Regions from separate parts of the Homo sapiens genome. Here all the other regions are linked to region 1. The links are contacts of gene promoters, found by promoter capture Hi-C in blood cells and fetal thymus (Javierre and others, 2016). All regions are on one chromosome and are shown on one strand. Each heading gives the region's core, a stretch centred on a gene start or on the middle of the fragment in contact. The rest is flanking DNA. Distances are from core to core; before and after follow the strand shown. Region 1 holds the start of NHS (NHS actin remodeling regulator). Region 2 overlaps NHS (NHS actin remodeling regulator). Region 3 overlaps NHS (NHS actin remodeling regulator). Region 4 overlaps NHS (NHS actin remodeling regulator).

The links. The method cuts DNA at HindIII sites, captures the fragments that hold promoters and counts their contacts. A CHiCAGO score of 5 or more calls a contact.
Region 2: a fragment that was not itself captured here is called in contact with the fragment with the promoter of NHS in region 1 in 2 of 17 cell types (M0 macrophages and M1 macrophages); the score reaches 7.1 in M0 macrophages.
Region 3: a contact is called between a fragment that was not itself captured here and the fragment with the promoter of NHS in region 1, in 1 of 17 cell types (neutrophils). The highest score is 5.8, in neutrophils.
Region 4: a contact is called between a fragment that was not itself captured here and the fragment with the promoter of NHS in region 1, in 1 of 17 cell types (monocytes). The highest score is 5.4, in monocytes.

What each region holds. Positions count from the first base shown.
Region 1 is chrX:17,373,900-17,377,265 of GRCh38, reverse strand. NHS (NHS actin remodeling regulator) reads right to left here and starts at 2,066. Exons shown (of 9, transcript NM_001291867.2): 1 at 944-2,066. The coding sequence starts at 1,508. The HindIII fragment of the contact is 7,271 bases long and covers 1-3,366 here.
Region 2 is chrX:17,596,192-17,599,354 of GRCh38, reverse strand. The region is part of intron 1 of NHS (NHS actin remodeling regulator); the gene reads right to left. Among named protein-coding and RNA genes, the nearest start is that of NHS-AS1, 39 kb to the right of the region's middle. The HindIII fragment of the contact is 8,896 bases long and covers 1-3,163 here.
Region 3 is chrX:17,575,732-17,579,012 of GRCh38, reverse strand. All of the region lies in intron 1 of NHS (NHS actin remodeling regulator), which reads right to left. The region is part of intron 1 of LOC101928389 (a long non-coding RNA gene); the gene reads right to left. Among named protein-coding and RNA genes, the nearest start is that of NHS-AS1, 18 kb to the right of the region's middle. The HindIII fragment of the contact is 6,957 bases long and covers 1-3,281 here.
Region 4 is chrX:17,614,424-17,617,523 of GRCh38, reverse strand. The region is part of intron 1 of NHS (NHS actin remodeling regulator); the gene reads right to left. Among named protein-coding and RNA genes, the nearest start is that of NHS-AS1, 57 kb to the right of the region's middle. The HindIII fragment of the contact is 3,133 bases long and covers 1-3,100 here.

The sequences.
Region 1 (3,366 bases), core at 817-3,316:
AAAGCGAAGTCAACGGACAGCAAAGACGCCCAGGGGTCTCCCAGACTTCCTTCCTCGTCGTTTCCCTGCAGCCCGCCTAGCAGACTAGTTCATACCTAAGTCCACGTGCCAGTAAATTTGGGCGACAGTGCACCGGGGAGGAGGAAGATAGTCTGTGGGATCCTCTGCGGGCAGATGGCACAGAGCCATTTAGTAGGAACCCTGGGCTGTTCAGAGCAGAAAAGATGCCCAGGGGTCTCCTCCATCTCCCCGGGGCCCCTGACACTCCCACCCTCATCTCTCCCTGACCCTCCCCGCGGCCCCTCCGGGCCACAAGGGTTTTCGGCAGAAGCACTACGAAGTTCAGTCTAGGAGGCGAGCAGCGCCACGCTACGTCGCACACGAGGGCAAGGCACAAGTTCGGAGCTCGGGGCAGCACCTGAGGTCACAGCGAGTGACGAAACAGCCGCGGTGCTGCAGCAGTCTCAAAAGAACACTCACTACTCCTGGAACCCCCAACCCTGAACATGCATGGTGTGGGCTACAGGGCTCAGGGCTGGGCTTCTGGAAACCACAGGAGTTGCAACCCTCCTCCCTACGCCCCGTGAAGGACGTGAAAGGCGAGCCCCGGTGGTGAAGGACAGACCCTCTCTGCCTCCTGTGCTCCCCATAAACGCTCCCTTTCTGCTCCTTCTCAGCCCACGCTGCCTGCGACTTCAGAGGTCGCCCTTTTAACTTTCCACCGTCCACGTCTGCATCACTGAATCGGGGTCCAGCCCAGCCACTCAGCCCCAGGAGGATTGGGGTGGGTCCCAGGGGATGGGAAGGGTGGGAAGGCGAGAGTAGTAAGGTGCAAGCTGCAACCGGAGCGGCGCCGCGGGGCTGGGATTGCCGCTGCTGGGGAGGGCGCGAGGGTGCGGCGCAGAAACCCATAGCCTGGCGGGCGGACGGCGCGGGTACTCACGCACTGCCTCCTGCTTAGGGTCAAGCGTGCTGAGGACGCGCTGCACGCCGCCGAGCTTGCCCTGCAGCGCCCAGACGCGGCGGTGGGTGAGCTGGATGTCGCTCTCGAGCTCCTGGAAGAGGCTGCAAGCGTGCCGGGCCACGTCCGAGAGCTGCCGGAGGACACGGGCCAGAGCGGCGTTGCTGACCGCGCATAGGTCCAGCATGAGCAGCACGGCCGCCGCCGCCGCCGCCGAGGACGCCTCGCCGGCTGCGGGCGCCGCCTCCGGGATCCCCGCCGTGCTCTCCTCGCCAGCCACGGACGCCTCTCCGTGCGGCGGCTGAGTCTGGTCGGCCGGCGCGGGCAGTGGCGGCGGCGGCGGTGGCAGCCCTGAAGGTGCAGGGACGGCGCGGGCTGGCTCCTCTGGCCCTGGCGCCTCGACCTCGTCCAGGTCCCTCCGGCCCGGCGGCTGCAAGGGCGGCGGCGGCTCAGCGCTGCCTCCGCTCGCGTCCACTGCTGGGCCGGGCGCAGGGCGCCGCTGCCTGCACAGCCATTGCGGCTCCACGATCCGCTTGGCGAAAGGCATCCCGCGCAGCCAGGCGGCGACTTTCTGGTCTCCTCCAAGCGCCCCTGTGAGCTGGAGACCGGGCGCGCCCACCTGAGCAGGGAGGGGGCAGGAGTCCGGCAAAAGCGCGATCTGGCAGTCCGGATACGCAGGGGGCTTCTCTGCTCACCTTGCCTCCTCTTCCCCGCCCTCTCCCTAGCAAATCAGTCCAGCCAGTCCTCCTTTGGGTGCACCGTTCCCTGGGGAGGATGACAAGCGCTCCGCACAGAAATTTAGGGGTGCGCCTGGTCTCTTCTCACTTGCTTCCAACCAGGGTCGACTGGCTCAACTCCATCGTTTCTGTGCTCGCCGTCGCCACCCCGGCCACTGCCGTCGCCGCCGCCTATATAAATGGGCGTGCGTGTGTCTGTGTGTGTGTGGGTGAGTGGGTGGGTGGGTGTGAGTGTGTGCGCGCGCCTCAGTTTGAAAGTACCCCGGCGCAGGCCTCTCCCCGCGCGCCCCTCGGCCGCTCCGGGGAGCGATTGCGCCCGGGATCTCTCTCCCTGGCTGGGCGGGGAGGAGGTTTCGGAAAGGCGCTCTGAAAACCCGGAGAGAGGAATCTGCCTCCAGCCCGGGCGCAGGAGGCCGCGCGGGGGTGACGGGGCGGACGCAGGGCGGGGGAGGCCGGGGCGAGGGGGGCGCAGCGCCCTGTGCGGCCGCTGGGAGTCACTGGTGGCCTCGCCGTGCTGGGCGCGTTCAGGCGCAAAGACACTTCCTCACATCCAAGGGGTTGGAATTGAGACTGTCAGCGTGGTGGGGGCGGGGAGTCCTCAAGTTGGGAGTAGGGGTGTGGGCAGTAAGCGCAGAGGGAAGAGGGTGGGGTATTGAGGATGCGGCAGATTTGGCGTGTTGGAGCAAGTTTTTCGCCGAATTCCAGCTCTGTACAAGACCTTTGGGTTCTTACAGGGAAAACTGGGCTGCTCCTTGGAGATCCCCGGGCTCTATGAACGCAAGGAGACAACTGGGGAGGGCAAAGGGCGTAGGCGCATCTCCATGTGGCCAGAGCAGCCAGAGTGCTGTTTATACCCCTTCCCAGGCATCACGTGGCCCCCTGTTTTGGGCACGGGCTCTATAGAATATCGTGAATGAGACCCAAACCACCAATGAGCAAAATCCCCAGAAAACTGCTTACGAAACTCATTGCACGTTGGGTGAGATAAACGGCATTACCTCCTCGTCACCCTACTGTGCTGATCATACACAGGATTTTTAAAGTTCTCCATCAGAGAGATGATGATTTACAGAAGAAGGGAAAGTTTTCCCCTTCAGTTAACTGAAAGGTATAATTTCTAAAAAGGCATGCATTTTCGATTGCAGCAGGCTGCAGGCTGTATGCCGTCAGTAAAAAGAGTTTGGGAAATGTTAATAAAACACGTGCTTTCATGCCTCCAAAAAGTATACTGTAAAAATATTTTTTATTTTAAAGCCACAAGCCAGATCTTGGGAATGCAGCCTCTTTTCGTGTTTCTAAAGAGAACATGGAAAAAATATGTTTTATGGCAACAATAAAGTCCTCCAGACCTGCGGTGGTGTCTCCTCTCCTCCCTCTAAAGGCGGGAGAGGGAGGAGGCTCCAACAGTCAGCACTTTGGACTGGCCCACGCTTTGGTTTTAAAGGCTTCAACAGACCCTTGTCTTATTCTACAAAACAAAAAAAAAAAAACAAAAAAAAACCAAAATTTTCGGCAAGGACATATCCTTGTTCATAAAAGATCCAGGCTGAGGCTTTGGGGGTAAAGGGCCATGATGTCTGCAAAGTACACATAAATGTTTCAGTAACAACAAGAAGAAGAATGATGATAATAAAGATGTGTATGTATGAAGGGAGAAAAAAACAAAAT
Region 2 (3,163 bases), core at 637-3,136, 220 kb before region 1:
TCTTGCACACTGCTGGTGGGATTGTGAATTGGTGCCCCCACTCTGGAAAACTGCTTGGCAGTGCCTGTGAAAGCAGAATATTTGTTTACCCTATGGCTGTGTGCTTCTGGGTATATACTCAATGGAACTATATCCATGTGTTCACCAAAAGATGTGTATATAGCAGCATTCTCTGTAAAGTCCCAAACTGGATATTAGCAAAATGCCCATCAATAATGGAATTCATAAATCACTTGTGATATGTTCAGAAAATGAAATACTACAAAGCAACAAAAAGAAGGAAATTTGAACTATACTCAACAACCAGGGTGATGCAGAGGGAAAGAAATCAGACACAAGAGAAAGTAGGCTGTATTATTCCACTTATACAAGTTCAAAAAACAGTTCAAACTAATCAATGAAGGAAAAATCAGTATACGGGTTATCCTTGGGGTGGGGAGTGAAATGAAGGGGCTCTTCTGGGGCCAGTGATCTTTGGGGTTTTTTTGTGAGGAGAGTAGGTACTTAGGTGTGTTCAGTTTGTGAAAATTCAAGGAAGTGTACACTTAGGATTTGTGCATTTTTCTATATGTATACCATTTTATGAAAGCAATCCACGTTTTCTTTGGGGAAAGAAAGGTCAATATAGTGAATATAGAAAGGGTCAATACAGTGAATATAGACTCTAAACTAGATTGCCTTGGTTCAAATCCCAGGTTTACCACCTGTAAGCTGCATGACCCTAGGGAAGCCATGAAGCCTTTTTCACCTGTATGCCCTTATCTGTGAAGTGAGGATAATGATAGTACCTTTGTTGTGGGTTGTTGTGACAATCTAATAGGTTAATATTTGTACAACGCTAGTGTAAGGCACAGGGTAGGCATCATATAAGTGTTTTTTAAATAAAAGTTTTCTTTGTGGGGGCACACTTAAAAATGTCTTTTGATGATCACTAACTACTTTAAAGGAGACTAAAGAAGAGTTAAGGAAATAAGAAAGGAGTTAAACTTATTTCCTAGGCAGCATTCTTGCTTATGAGGGAAAAATATTATCTTGGCGCCTGGCCAGTTAATTCTGTTCTTCTTGACTTGGAGTCTGGACTCCCAACAGGCTCCGGGCATTGGTCCAGAGGCTTGACAACGAGCCACATCTGGGACTGCCAGGAACTGCCACAAAAGAGTCCGCCCAAGAAGGCCTGTTGGAATTGCTGGGGAGGGAGAGTGCCATCCAGTCAGGACCCATGCCAGGACACAGCCCCCTGAGTCTACCTGCTGGGTAGGGCAGGCCCTGAACCCTGGCCTTTCCTCTAGCTCCCAGTCAGAACCTTCCCTTCCATCACAGGTCTCCTCCAAAAAGAGCTGACTAAGACAGGGCTGCATTCATAGACAGGAAAAGAAAAGAAAGAGAAGAGAGAGAATCAAGCAGGAGTGTCCTACCCTCCTAGAAATGAGCCTGCGATCATTCTGGGCACCCTCTCTCGCTTGGGTTTGTTCTTCACTGAACATCCCTAGTGAATGAGGAGCCTGAGGAGTGTCTCCTTTTACAGGCAACCTCCAGAGTCCACCACAATCAGGTACCCGCGGTGTGGCTCGACCCACTCTTCCTCTCCCTGTTACTTTCTGACACAGCTGGCTCTTCAATCAAAGCTGAGTTCCCTCTTATCTAATCCTTTGCTTTAGGAAGTTTAACTCACCCTCTAAAGCCTGTGCCTGGAAAAAAAATAAACCCAAATGAGAACAATTTTTATCTCCCATTATGAGTGGAAGTGAATCTCCTCTAGCTTGGCAACTCTCCAGGAATATCCCACTAATTTTTAAGTCATTTCTAGCCTGCTCTCTTCTTTTGCTCTTTCTCCAGCTCTCTTCCAAATGCTCACTGAGGAAGAGTGTATCCCTTGTCCCTACCCCTGCCAGTTTTTTGTTTTTTCTTAAAAAAAAAAAAAAAAGAGAATAGCCAGGCGCGGTGGCTCACGCTTGTAATCCCAGCACTTTGGGAGGCCGAGGTGGGCGGATCACGAGGTCAGGAGATCGAGATCATCCTGGCTAACACAGTGAAACCCCGTCTCTACGAAAAATACAAAAAAATAAAATTAGCCAGGCATGGTAGCGGGCGCCTGTAGTCCCAGCTATTTGGGAGGCTGAGGCAGGAGAATGGCGTGAACCCGGGAGGCGGAGCTTGCACTGAGCCGAGATCGCGCCATTGCATTCCAGCCTGGGTGACAGAGCAAGACTCCGTATCAAAAAAAAAAAAAAAAAAAAACGGAAGAATAGTCTTAAGTTCCTGAAGCCGTGTATGACACACTGGCTAGTTTTACACCAAAACATTTCCCTTTACACCTTGGGCACACAGATGACTCTATTTCCCAGCCTCCCTTGCATGTTAGTGGGGCCACGTGACAGTTCTGGCCAGAATATAGGTGGGCCCATAAAACCTCCACGCTATCCTCCACACTTTCTCTTTGCCTCATCTGCAGTCTGGATGCAGTAGCTGAGGTGGACTTGGAGGCCTTAGGGCACAGGGAAGTCATAAAATGGAAGGAGCCTGGGAGTCTGAATGCCTGCGTGGAACACAGGTCCTGATCCCTCACTTCCCCACTCCCATGCCTGGAATGTGACATGAACAAGAAATAAACTTTGTGTGAAGCCCCTGAGACTTGGAGTGGCTGGCACTGACTAATATACCAAATTCCAGACTCTCAAACTTTCTACAAACTGGAATACCACATTCCTCTCTCCCAATGGTTCCCTGTGCAGTCATCTTTGACCTCTCTGCATGGTAGGCCAAACCTGGAGCATGAACACCAAAATCCCACATCCTAACCCTTAACCTTTGACCTTGGTTCATGCTTCAACTTTTAATTTGGTTTCCTGCCTGTTGATTAAAATATATTTGTTGGAAGTGAATTGAAAGTCTCAGAAATGGTGCCTGTTATTTCCATAACTGAGTCTTCAAGCCATATGCTCTGTGTATCCATCTGGGCATGTCTGGGATATTTGAATTAGTCCCATTGGCTGCATTGTAGACAAGCAAGCAAAGAGATTGGAAGCTGCCAAGTCCCTCTATGATAGACAGGTCCTCCCAAGCCATCCTTCCCATTCTAAGGAAGAACAATTACAAGCACATTACTAAGAACAAGCCATTCATCATCCAGACTTTGCCTCTGTCTTGACTTGCATCCATAGTG
Region 3 (3,281 bases), core at 234-2,733, 200 kb before region 1:
ATTTTCCACTACAACACACCTTTTTGTACACTGGTACACACTCACACACATACACACACACTCACACACATGCGCACAGAGTCAGGGGGTGGGAGCATTATCCTTTGACTCCAATAAAGCGCTTCAAACACCCTCTCCAACACTGCAGGAGATGAGAGCAGTGCCGCAAGATACTAGCGAACACTTATTGAGCACTTACTATATGCCAGGTACAGTTGTAAACAGGTTTTTCTTTGTTTGTGGAAATACAATCTGCTCATGAAATATCTTGGACAGATAGATCTAAGAACTGGCTATTTACCAGTTTTGATTATTTTATAACACCAATTGAATTTCTGCCATATGTGAGAAAACAGTCCAGCCTTACTTCTTGTTGCTAATGGCTGTTATTACACATGAAACTATACTGTTTACACTCTTGAGTATTTCGATATATAGGAACTCACTGAATCCATACACCCTATGCAGCCAGTTACTATTCCAGCCCCACTTCACAGAGAAGGAAACTAAAACACAGAGAAGTTAAATGACTTCCTCAAGATCACTTAACCTATAGGTGGCAGAGACAGAATTGGAACCCCGGCAGTTGGGCCTCGAGCCTACTTTCTTAGCTAACTAACCCAATGCTGGGATGCAGGAGGCATCTACCTCTACCCACATGTAACCTTGATGAAGGATATACCTCTTGGGCCTCAGCACCCACAACTAAGAACTCAGATTATTCTTCATAGTTACTGAGAATATACAATTTTCTGATCATTTCCAACATCTGGAAAATGCTAAAAGTCTTTAACATGAGGTATTGGATGTTGGCATAATTAAAGAACATCATTAACCACAGGATTGTTCAGAGAAGCTGTTATAGCCTCTATTGTGTACACCCTTCAAGAGCATTTATGAAATGCTTACTACATATTTAACAAACATATTTTATATTATTTCTAGGACAAGAATGGTGCTAGTTTCATGGCTAGCACAGTAACACCTAACAGGCACTCACACAAACAAGTTTGTTGAATGAATGAATGAATAGCTGGAAGTTATATCAGGGCATATATGTTCTATTAAACTGCAGAACTATAGTACTGGAGGAGTCCTTAGAAACATTCTCATTTAACCACCCTGCCAAAACACTCCTATCCCTTTTTAAAGATGAGAAAATGGAAAGAGTTTGATGAAGTACAGAAAGTAGAGGAAGGGAGACAAGACAGAATGAGGTAGACACAGACAGGCTTCTAACTCTGAGTCAGTTTCCATATTTCTTCATTATTATCTTTAGAGCCAACTTTCAGCATGTCAGCCAATAAACCAGGAACACTTTCCAAAGTCAAATGTGAATGATTTCTGAGGTGTTGGCAGGTTTTTTTGGCCACCTTCTATTAGTATGAAAAATTGAGGTTTTCAATTTAAAGTGGGTATTTCAATTTAAAGTGGATATTTAATCCACTTTAGATCAAATGTTAAAATTCAGGTGGCTAAGGGCATATAGATGTTTGACTCTAAGCCTGGTGTAAGACATTCATCATATTCCATTTTCCAATTTAGGCACATAATATAAGAGGCATTTGATCTAATAAAAATGAAGAAGATTCAACTCATGACTTCTATAGCAAACTATCAGTAACCCGAGAAATACAAAGCACAGAGGTTCCAGGTGCCTGGCATCTCCAAAAGTCGCCTTTATTTTCTTGTGCATTTGAACCTTTTCTCAAATTAAGTCCATGAGGATTTGAATGGATCCATCATAATTCCCTAGGCTCCTAGTTATCTTTCATGAATTCTGATTATGGTTCATAAAAATGTATAATCTACTTCATTAAGACACTAGGGAAGTTGATGGACCCTGGAAGTTTGGAGTGTAGTGTAGTGTTAAAAGAAGAAACAATGGCTACACTTAACAGCTGGGAAGGATATTTATGTCAGTTCCATTTGATCTTCCTACTGGCAGGGGGATTAGGAGAAGGAGGAAAACCAGAGAAGGATGTCGGGTCTAAAATCACAATCTCGGGCAACTGAGGTCCACCAGATAACCTTTAGGGCATTTTCTTTCTTTCCTTGTTTGTTCTCCTGTCTGTGCACTGGGAGGAGAATGAACATACTATTTGTTTTCTTTGAAGATTTGCTTCTGATGAGAGATTTTGGGAATGCATCAAGGCTGGATAAGTGCCCATCCCTCAACCTTGAGATGCTGTAAATTGAACAGAACTGGATAGGGTCCATAAGTCGCCTTTCCCCATCACTGCTTCTCATGAAAGGGAAAACAATCGTGTGTTTATCCTCACCATTGACAGTGTGCAGATGTGTTTTCTTAATGGCACCTGCGACACGTTTATTTATCCTCTTGGGTGCTTAGAGCCTGTGCGTTTCACATCTTTTCCAGCTGTACAGGGCAAGGCTGTTGGTAACCTTCTGTTTTTCAAACTAATTCTCTTACTCTGGATTGTTTGTTTTATTTTTAAGTAATTTAACCCACACAAGTAGCCCTTGGGAGAAGGGTTATTTAATCAAGGGAAAGTTGTTTAGAACACCACCCATGAGATCTTCCCATAGTTCACCCTTTGGCCAGGACAAAGGTGGGGTGATGAGAAAAAATGTGATTTGCCTTGGATCAGTCTTCCTGAGAAAAATTCAAGGAATGTCAGCAAGGTGGGAAGAGACCAAATCTATACATCTCGTTACCCTTATCAGAGAATATCTCTAGTAATCATACAAAGAAGAAATTAACTTCCAAAGGTGCAAAGCTGAATTCTGGTTCACTTTCTGTAATATTAAATTATTGGAGGGTGAATATATACATGACTGATTATCTGTGAGTCAGAGATTCAACTATTTTGGGTGGCTGAGGATAGTGAGAGAATAACATATTAGGTATTCTATAAGTGCTATTCAGGGAATAACATTCCCTGGATACTCTAGACATCGAGAGAACTATTGAACTTCTAATATCCCTCTATTTTTCACTCTGCATCCTGCCACAAGGCCAAGAGAACCAATTGCAACAGACACTATCTTTTCTTGCTATGCAACAGATCTGTGGCCTCTTTGTGTTGAAATTCCAAGGAGGGTACCACTCTCTGGAATGAGACAGGCCTTTGCTCGTGTCTGGGGCACACAATGGCAGGCAAGGGGGTATAAAGAAGATTTGGGGCAGTGAGAGAAGTCAGAGGAGCTGAGCCCCAGCCATAACCCTTCATGCTTCCAAATAGACATCCTAGACATGCCAGATACATGAGCCATTTGTGTGTCAATAAATATTGATTGCACACCTACCATGAGAGGAG
Region 4 (3,100 bases), core at 309-2,808, 240 kb before region 1:
TCTCTGGGGTGACATTCAATGGGAAACTTGAAGGAAGGCGAAAAATATATTCAATTCTTTTGGATTTGGAAAATATGCTATTTGGCTGAGAAAGATGTTTTCCACATATTTGATCACCCAAAAGCAGTTAAGCACTGAAACGTCAAATATGTTATAATCTAATCAAAGCCATGAGCATCTAAAAACATGGCATCCCGGTGCTGTGGACGATAAAACATGCAGTTGACTCATGTGCTGTGAGATGCTGGTGTAGACCTTGGCTGCAGAAGGAAGCACAGATCAGTGTGGTTGCGTAGGGGCAGCTGCAGTATAGACGCAGACCCCAATTCACAGCCTAGCCTGGCCAACAAACCCGGGAATTACACAGGCCCTTTCATCCCTGGATTTTCAAGTGCTTTGTCAACAGAATCCTATTACTTTCACGACAGTCCCGGGAAGCCAGCAGTAGGCCCCAGTTTCACAAAGCTGATGGCAAGGCTGGAGAGAAAAGGCAGCTGGCTAATCGAAGGTCTCTAATAACTATCCCTGTCACACTTTTTTTTCTTTTACAATTAAATTACGAGGACAGAGGAATAAGCTGAATGATACTTAGAAATCTTTGTGCCCTAAGACTGTATGCCCCGAAACAATTGCTACTAGTCACATGTGGCTATTGGGCATTTGAAACAAGGCTAGTATGTCCAAAGAATGGAATTTAAAAATTTTGTTTAATTTTAATTAATTCAAATGTAAATGTACAGGCTGATATTAAATCCAGTTATTGGGAAAATTTTAAATACATTTGGAAGAATTTGGATATGTGTATCTACTTTTTCAACTGTAAATTTTATGAAATCTAAATACATATCAAGTATTTCTGATGAAAATTAAGCATTTGAATTAAGATGCACTGCACGTGTGCAATGGATATGGGATTTTGAAGACAATACAAAAAATATGAAACATCGCATTAATAATTTTAAAATATTGATTGCATTTTGAAATGGTAATAGTTTGGACATTTGGGCTAAATAAAACACATAATCAAAACTAACATCACCTGCTTCTTTTTACTTTTGTAATTTCATTATTAGATATTTTTAAATGACATCTGTGTTTTGCATTGTATTTCTAAGGTACAACTATATTCAAGAATGAAAAGAGATTTGCACAAGCAGATGTCATCTACCTGCCCAGCCAAGTTGTTGTCACAGATGCGCATACATACAGACCCACCCAATGTATAAAATAACAAATGGCAACCAAAAATCTACTGCCAAGATCTCTGAAGAGGTGGCGCCACCCAGCCAACTGGGGATTGTGACAGAAGTGACAGTGTCTCAACTTGACTTGCCCTTTGAAGGACTTTGGACAAATGAATCCCTTTAGCCATCCTTACAGCAGCAAATGCTAATCTTTCTTTACCTTTGATACAGGGATATCGCTCACTCTGTTCATTTACCAGGTTGTCATTAGGGCCAGGCCACTAGCTGGTTGCTATAGTGGGCCACAGAGACAAATAAGACATAGTCCCTGGCTCAAGGGGTTTGCAATCTAATTGTTTTCAAGCACGTAATTAACTATTTTTTTAAAGTTAGACTGAACTAAATGCTGAAATTGAGCTCACAATAAAGGGCTCCCAGAGCATAAGGGTGAACAGTGATGAATTCTGCCTATGGATATCAATCAGGGTGGGCTTTCCATGCAGTAACACTTAAGATGAACTGTGATAGGCATGCAGGATGTTGTCGGTGGGGTGGGGGGGTGGGCAGTGCAGATGATGTAAACAGCTGAGCCAAGGAATGCATGTAAATGGATAGTGCGTTCAGGGAATGGTGTGGGGGAAAAGGGAGAGAGGTCCTGACAGATGAGGTTTGAAAAGTCCAAAGGGACCAAACGACAAGTGAATCAGTTGAGACTAGTGTGGTTTTGGAGGAGAGGAGTGATGGGCTCATGGAGACCATGGCAATACTCCAAGCAAGAAACAGCAAGAGCATGGCTGGGTGCAGTGGCTCACGCCTGTAATCACAGCACTTTGGGAGGCCGAGGTAGGAGGCTTGATCCCAGGAGTTGGAGACCAGCCTGGACAATATGGAGGAACCTCATCTCCACAAAAAAAAAAAAATTAGCCGAGTGTGTTGTCATGCACCTGTAGTCCCAGCTACTCAGAAGGCTGAGGTGGGAGGATCACTTGAGCCCAGAAGACTGATGCTACAGTGAGCCATAAGTGTGCCACTGCACCCCAGCCTGGGCAACAGAGTGAGACCATATATATATATATATGTGTATATATGTGTATATATATACGTATATATATGTGTATATATACGTATATATATACGTATATATGTGTATATATACTATATATATACGTATATATATAGTATATATACACGTATATATATACACACATATGTATATGTGTGTATATATATATATACATATATATATACACACATATATATATATATGTATGAATGACAAGAGCCTGCCCTGGGACAGGGAAAGAAAAAGTGAGAAAGAGAGGGAAGATGCAAAAGGCATAGTGGAGGAATATTAAGCTATCAGGGAAGTAAGGGAAGAGGGAAAGGAGCTCATGGTGTTGTCATTAAGTGAGATTAGGGAACACAGGAGGAAGGAGAGATGTGACATGATATGATGTCTGAAAAAAAGCACTGCAAACTCTTTGGAAGAAAGCCTGGATTAACACAAGACATTGATAACAGACCACAGGCCCATGAACCTACCTAATGTCTAGTGTGGTACTTGGCTGTTAGCAAAAACCTTTATCACACAATGAAGATGGGAAATTGCTAAGGAGGGGAAAAAGTTCATTTTGTGACTTCCTGAGTTAATTTTCAAACGTGAGGTAGCATGAGTGTAGATTGTTGACACTTAATACATGTAACACTGGAAATGAAACAAACACATATCAAGCATGGGTGCTGGAGTCCTAACAATACACCTATAATCAGTTGTAAGTCAAAGCTCTGCCCTTGGAAAATGTAACCCGCTGTGATGAAAGGATTATGTAATTTTTTCAGGGTCAAACTTATGAGAGGGTTTGCTTGTACAAGTGGAACATACACCAACACCCCCACCCCCACCACCGTTGCAAGGA